Linked DNA regions of Homo sapiens: region 1 is linked to region 2. The links are contacts of gene promoters, found by promoter capture Hi-C in human tissues and cell types (Jung and others, 2019). All regions are on one chromosome and are shown on one strand. Each heading gives the region's core, a stretch centred on a gene start or on the middle of the fragment in contact. The rest is flanking DNA. Distances are from core to core; before and after follow the strand shown. Region 1 overlaps POLDIP3 (DNA polymerase delta interacting protein 3). Region 2 holds the start of CENPM (centromere protein M).

Region 1 (2,772 bases), core at 57-2,556, 660 kb after region 2:
AGGAGCCCCTCCGCCCAGCAGCCGCCCCGTCTGGGAAGTGAGGAGCGTCTCCGCCCGGCAGCCGCCCCGTCTGGGAGGGAGGTGGGGGGCAGCCCCCGCACAGCCAGCCGCCCTGTTCGGGAGGTGGGGGGCGCCTCCACCCAGCCACCACCCCGTCTGGGAAGTGAGGAGCCCCTCTGCCCGGCCGCCACCCCGTCTGGGAGGTGTACCCAACAGCTCATTGAGAACGGGCCATGAAGACGATGGCGGTTTTGTCGAATAGAAAAGGGGGAAATGTGGGGAAAAGAGAGATCAGATTGTTACTGTGTCTGTGTAGAAAGAAGTAGACGTGGGAGACTTCATTTTGTTCTGTACTAAGAAAAATTCTTCTGCCTTGGGATGCTGTTAATCTATAACCTTACCCCCCCCCCCAAAAAAAAATTAGCTGCAAGTGATGATGCACATCTGTAGTCCCAGCTACTCAGAAGGCCAAGGCAGGAGGATCAACTAAGCCCAGGAGGTCCAGGCTGCAGTGAGCCAAGATCACACCACTGGACTCCAGCCTGGGAGACAGAACAAGACCCTGTCTCAAAAATCAAAACAAAACAAAACAAAAAAAAACCACCACCACCAAAACAAAAAGAAACAATCTTCCTTATCATTATTGTCTGGTATTTCAGTTTCAATATGTTGTTAAACCCTTAAAAATTTATACATATATATAAAGGAAGGATAAACAGTCCGCAGGCTGAAGAAATCTTAGGACTCCGGTCATGCCCAGGGATACGGAGCACTCTCTAGCGACCAAAGGGTGAGCACAAGCAGCGAGGCGAGCGGGTGGTGCACGCACTGAGAACTCGCATACCACAATGCCTGCCTGGCAGGAAGGACCACCAAGATGCTTTGTGCTGGCATTTTTATCTATTTGAACAGCCTAAAAGGCACATTTAGGGGTGGGAGTTAACGGTAGTTGAGGATGTAGTAGGAGCTCCTCACGGTGGGAGGGAGTAAGCTATTTCCCTCAATCTGATGCACTCAGTTCCCTGGTTCCACCAGTGCTTTCAACTTCTTTCGTGAACAGCTTGAGGGGGCTTCAGTGTTCAGGCTTTTTATAATCACAGCTGCTCTTCCTGCATGAAAAGACAGCTATTCATCCCAGCAGGCAGCAGTACTGGTTTCAGGCAGGCATTAGTCATCGGAAATTTTTCAAATCAACACTCCTGCCAGGGGTAGGTCTCTAAAACACAGACTCAATTATGTTACCCTCCCGCTTCTAGAACTGCTGGGGGCTCCTTTACAAAGCCCAACCCCTGGGGGGGCCTCGGCTCTGGCTCCAGCTTATGGCTGCAGCCTTACTCCCCACTGCAGTGACTACTGACGTTCCCAAAACACATCCTGCACTTTTATCCTCAGTAAATGTTTGGGAGGGCGAAGGAGGAAGGTTTTGACTGAGTCTCGTAATGCCCCACCTCCATCGCACCGAAACTACAGCTCTGCAACTGCTTCCAGGGCTTCACCAGGTATTCCGCGAGGTCCTGGCAAGAGCGCTGCTGGCAGGTGAGAAGGCAAACGTTCCCTGGACCCCAAATTCTCTCCTCTATACCCCCTACGGGAACCTGGCATAGGTGTGATGACCAGGGAGGGTCTGTCTGGGCTATAGGAATATTTCACCCTCCTGGCTCTGTCTGGGGAGGGCAGGGCTACAGCCCATTCTGGACAGATGTCCAGTCCAAAAGATTCAGGCCCATGAAGTGGGGCCCTGGATTATTATAAAGCAGATTTTAACCCATGGGTTTAAAATCCTCTGGGTTATGGGAGGCAGAGGTTGCCATGAGCCAAGATCGCACCACTGCACTCCAGCCTGGGTGACAGAGCAAGATTCCGTCTTATAAAAACAAACAAAAAAAGCTTCTGGGTTAGGGGGTGTTCGTTTAGGTGTGTGTTTAGGTCATTTTTATAGAGAGAAAACAGCTTAATTCTAACTATGACTGAGGGTCAACTCTGAATTAGGTGTTTAAGAGACACAAAGAAAAACAAGACACTAAAATACTATCCCCTGCTGGGCGAGGTGGCTCACGCCTGTAATCCCAAGCACTTTGGGAGGCTGAGATGGGCGGATCACTTGAGGTCAGGAGTTTGAGACCAGCCTGGCCAACATGGTGAAACCCTGTCTCTACTAAAAATACAAAAAATTAGCCGGGCGTAGTGGCCCATGCCTGTAGTCCCAGCTACTCAGGAGGCTGAGGCAGGAGAATCGTTTGAATCCAGGAGGTGGAGGTTTCGGTGAGCTGAGATCGCGCCATTGCACTCCAGCCTGGGCAGCAAGAGCAAAACTCTGTCTCAAAAATAAATAAATAAAATAAAATACTATCCCCTTACCCAAGAGTCTTGTGCAGATGTTTCATTTTAAAACATAATTCGTTCCCTAGAGTTATGTAATAACTCATTTCCTCCCTTTTGTGTTTAGGTCTTTATTTCCTTTATCTTATTTCAACAAGGAAACAAGCAGTCAGTACCAGGACCAGAGTCCTGGGCTGAACTGCAAAGTTTACAATCCACCCTGTCCCCCAACAACCTCCCACTTCCAGCTCCAAGGACTCCCCAGATGAGGCGTCTGGCCCAGAGAGCTGCTCAACTCCAGCCTCCAGCACATTCAAGGCTGCCACACTGAACTGCTTGGAGGCAGCTGACAGAAAGCTATCCGCTGAGGGTTAAACTCATCGAACTAACAAAAGCGGACATGTCAACTGACTTAACTGGGGATGCCCTCATATCTAAAGGAAGAAACTGCTG
Region 2 (2,822 bases), core at 211-2,710:
TCCCAAAGTGCTGGGATTACAGGTGTGAGCCATTGTGCCCGGCCGTTGTGTATTTTAAACATTGTGCACTGACCACTGGCTCCTCTCTCCTCACCTTACAGATTGACCTCAGCCAGCCTCTCCCATCCTCACCACTTCCCATCACAAGTTAGGTCACCGTCTCAGCACAGTCCTGAGCCAGGCCTGCCTGAGCCCTGACTGCCCCTTCCTCTGGCTCTCACCTGTATTTGCTGTGAAGATTAACCACAAACACGATCAGGTCAATTCGGGGCCGATTCACACTGGAGGGCAAAGGGAGGGACTTTGCCAAGTGGCTGAAAAACAGGAAATTGCAGGACTCAAGATATCCGTACCCCCCTCATAGCGACCGTTTAAATGCTGCCCTTCATGTGGAAAGAGGCCGTCAAGGGCTCCCCACCTCATCCTAGCCACCCGAGGCTCTTGTGGCCACGACTCCTTGGGCCAGCACAGAGGCAGGACAGGTCCGGTCCTATTCAGATTACTCCTGTCTGATTCCCTCTGCCAGAAACGGGCTCTGTTTAGTCACCACCTCGGCAAGGGGAGGTTGGGATATAAGACGGCATGGGACTAGCCAGCTACGCTGCATGCTGGGAGAAGGACCAGCCTCAGAGGAGGGGGCGCTGGGCTTCGGAGTTTAGCAGCTAGGACCGAATCCCTCTGGAGTGAGAGACACGTGGGCCCAGGCCACAGCCGCGGCTACTTACACCTTCAGCTCGGAGGCGCAGTCCTCTTTGAGCATCGAGTCCGCCAGCTGCTGCAGAAGAGCATCCTCCGTGCCCACCAGCTGCGCAGGGAGAGAGAGCGGACAGTCGAGCCCTAGGCACAGCACCCCCTGGGGAGGGCCTGGCCCTTCGACCCACTCCCGGGGGGATCGGGACACCGCCAGCAGGCGGCTCGGAGGACATTTCCCGAGAAGTGGACCCCGCGAAGCGGCACGGGCTGGGGGCCTGAGGTTTGGACCCGCTGCAGGCCTGTGGGCACCGCACTCTCTACTACCCGACCCTCGCTCCCACCGCCGGCCTCTCCAGGAGGCCAGACCCCCAGACGCGGGAAAACCAATTCCAGGCGCGGGAACTCGCCAATCAGAAGCTGGGAAAGGGTCCGCCGAGCACCTATTGGTGGGTGCGTCCCTCAACCTCAGAGAGCGGCTACTCCAATTGGTTCAGAGCATGGCTCTCCGCCTATTCCCCGCCCCCGCCACGGTAGCGCGCGCTGGCTTGGCGCCTCAGAGAGCTCAGTTGACCTAGTGGCTGAAGCACCGCCCAGGAGGAAAAACCGGCGGGGGAAGCAGGGCCGCCTGCACCTACCAAGATGGTGGCCGTGTTCAGGCCGGGCAGCTTGTCCAGGGGCCTCAACACCGACATCACAGCCGCAGGACCAACCGTTGCTCCTGCGGTGCGCGCCGATCTTTCAAACCGCCCTGAGTCCAGCCCCTAGAGCGCGGCCTGGGGGCACGTGCCTCCTTATAGGCGGGGCTTCGCGGGACGGGACGGGGCCTCTTAAAGGAACCGAACCTTTATCTCCTTTTCTGAGGGGCGTTCCAGCGCTACCCGTGGAACACGTGGTGGACAGGCCTTTGGTTCCACGCTCCACAGTAAGCAGGTTTTTAGTGATTCCTTTGTTCACTTTCATTCATTCATGCTCATACACAGTACTTTTTTTTTTTTTTTTTGAGACAGAGTCTCGCTTTGTGGCCCAGGCTGGAGTGCAATGCGCGCAATCTCGGCTCACTGCAACTTCTGCCTCCCGAGTTTAAGCGATTCTCCTGCCTCAGCCTCCCAAGGAGCTGGGACTACGGGCGCGCGTCACCACGCCCGACTTATTTTTTTATTTTTAGTAGAGACGGGGTTTCTCCAAGTTGCCCAGGCCGGTCTCAAACTCCTGGCCTCAAGTGATCCCGCCTCGGCCTCCCAAAGTGAGTGCTGAGATTACAGACGTGAGCCACCGTGCCTGGCCCTTTTTTTTTTTTTTTTTTTGGAGCGTCACTTTGTTGCCCAGGCTGGACTATAGTGACACGATCATAGCTCACTACAGCTTCAAACTCCTGGGCTCAAGTCATCTTCCTGGCTTAGCCTCCTGAGTAGCTGGAACTACAGGCAAGTGCCACCATGGGGATCTGGCCATGTTGCCCAGGTGGGTCGTAAACTCCTGGCCTCAAGCAGCCCTCCTGCTTCAGCCTCCTGAGTAGCTGGGACTACCGCTGCACACCAGCAGGCCCTGCCAATTGACTGCTTTTACAGTGAGTGGTAAGCATGCTGTTCTTTGTCCAATGGGAGACTTTACCTCATCTTTCAAGGTTCCTTGCTGCAAACACAGCCTGAGTACAGAGCTGTCAGGGTCTTGCTTTCTTGACATACCCAGCAAGAACATGCAGGGACGCTCAGGGCCCATAGCAAACTGGTTCTGCCAACAGTTATATAATAACTTGTTCACTGTCTCTACATCTAAAATGTAAGAAACAAGAGGTTAGAGACTTTGTCACTTTGTATGTCCAGCACTCTAAAAGTCCCTGGTACATCGTAGTTAATAAATATTTGTTGAGTGAATGGATGGATTACATTCATCCATTCATTCTCAGCAGTCATTCATTCATCATTTCCTATGCCCAGACCCAATGCCCTACCCTAGGAAGTCAGTTGAATCAGACATTATTGATTAACTTAGTTTGATGGGGGTGGGATAGACAATGATAACAGTGTGTTCATTGTTGTAATAACTGGGAGAGCAGAGACACTGTCTAGCCTAAATCCTTCTTACTGCAGACTAAACTAACTGTGTCTTGCTCAGAAAGATCAGGACGT

Evidence for each region. The method cuts DNA at HindIII sites, captures the fragments that hold promoters and counts their contacts. A contact is called where the count stands out against the background at its distance.
Region 1: a fragment that was not itself captured here is called in contact with the fragment with the promoter of CENPM in region 2 in 1 of the 25 tissues and cell types used here (dorsolateral prefrontal cortex).

What each region holds. Positions count from the first base shown.
Region 1 is chr22:42,607,854-42,610,625 of GRCh38, forward strand. The region is part of intron 1 of POLDIP3 (DNA polymerase delta interacting protein 3); the gene reads right to left. It overlaps LOC124905127 (a long non-coding RNA gene), which reads right to left. Exons shown (of 2, transcript XR_007068118.1): 2 at 882-1,109. Among named protein-coding and RNA genes, the nearest start is that of POLDIP3, 5.6 kb to the right of the region's middle. The HindIII fragment of the contact is 5,591 bases long and covers 1-2,772 here.
Region 2 is chr22:41,945,692-41,948,513 of GRCh38, forward strand. It overlaps CENPM (centromere protein M), which reads right to left and starts at 1,461. Exons shown (of 6, transcript NM_024053.5): 1 at 1,329-1,461; 2 at 726-805; 3 at 222-314. The coding sequence starts at 1,385. It also overlaps a transcript of SMIM45 not described here. RefSeq lists an enhancer at 1,265-1,474. The HindIII fragment of the contact is 14,723 bases long and covers 1-2,822 here.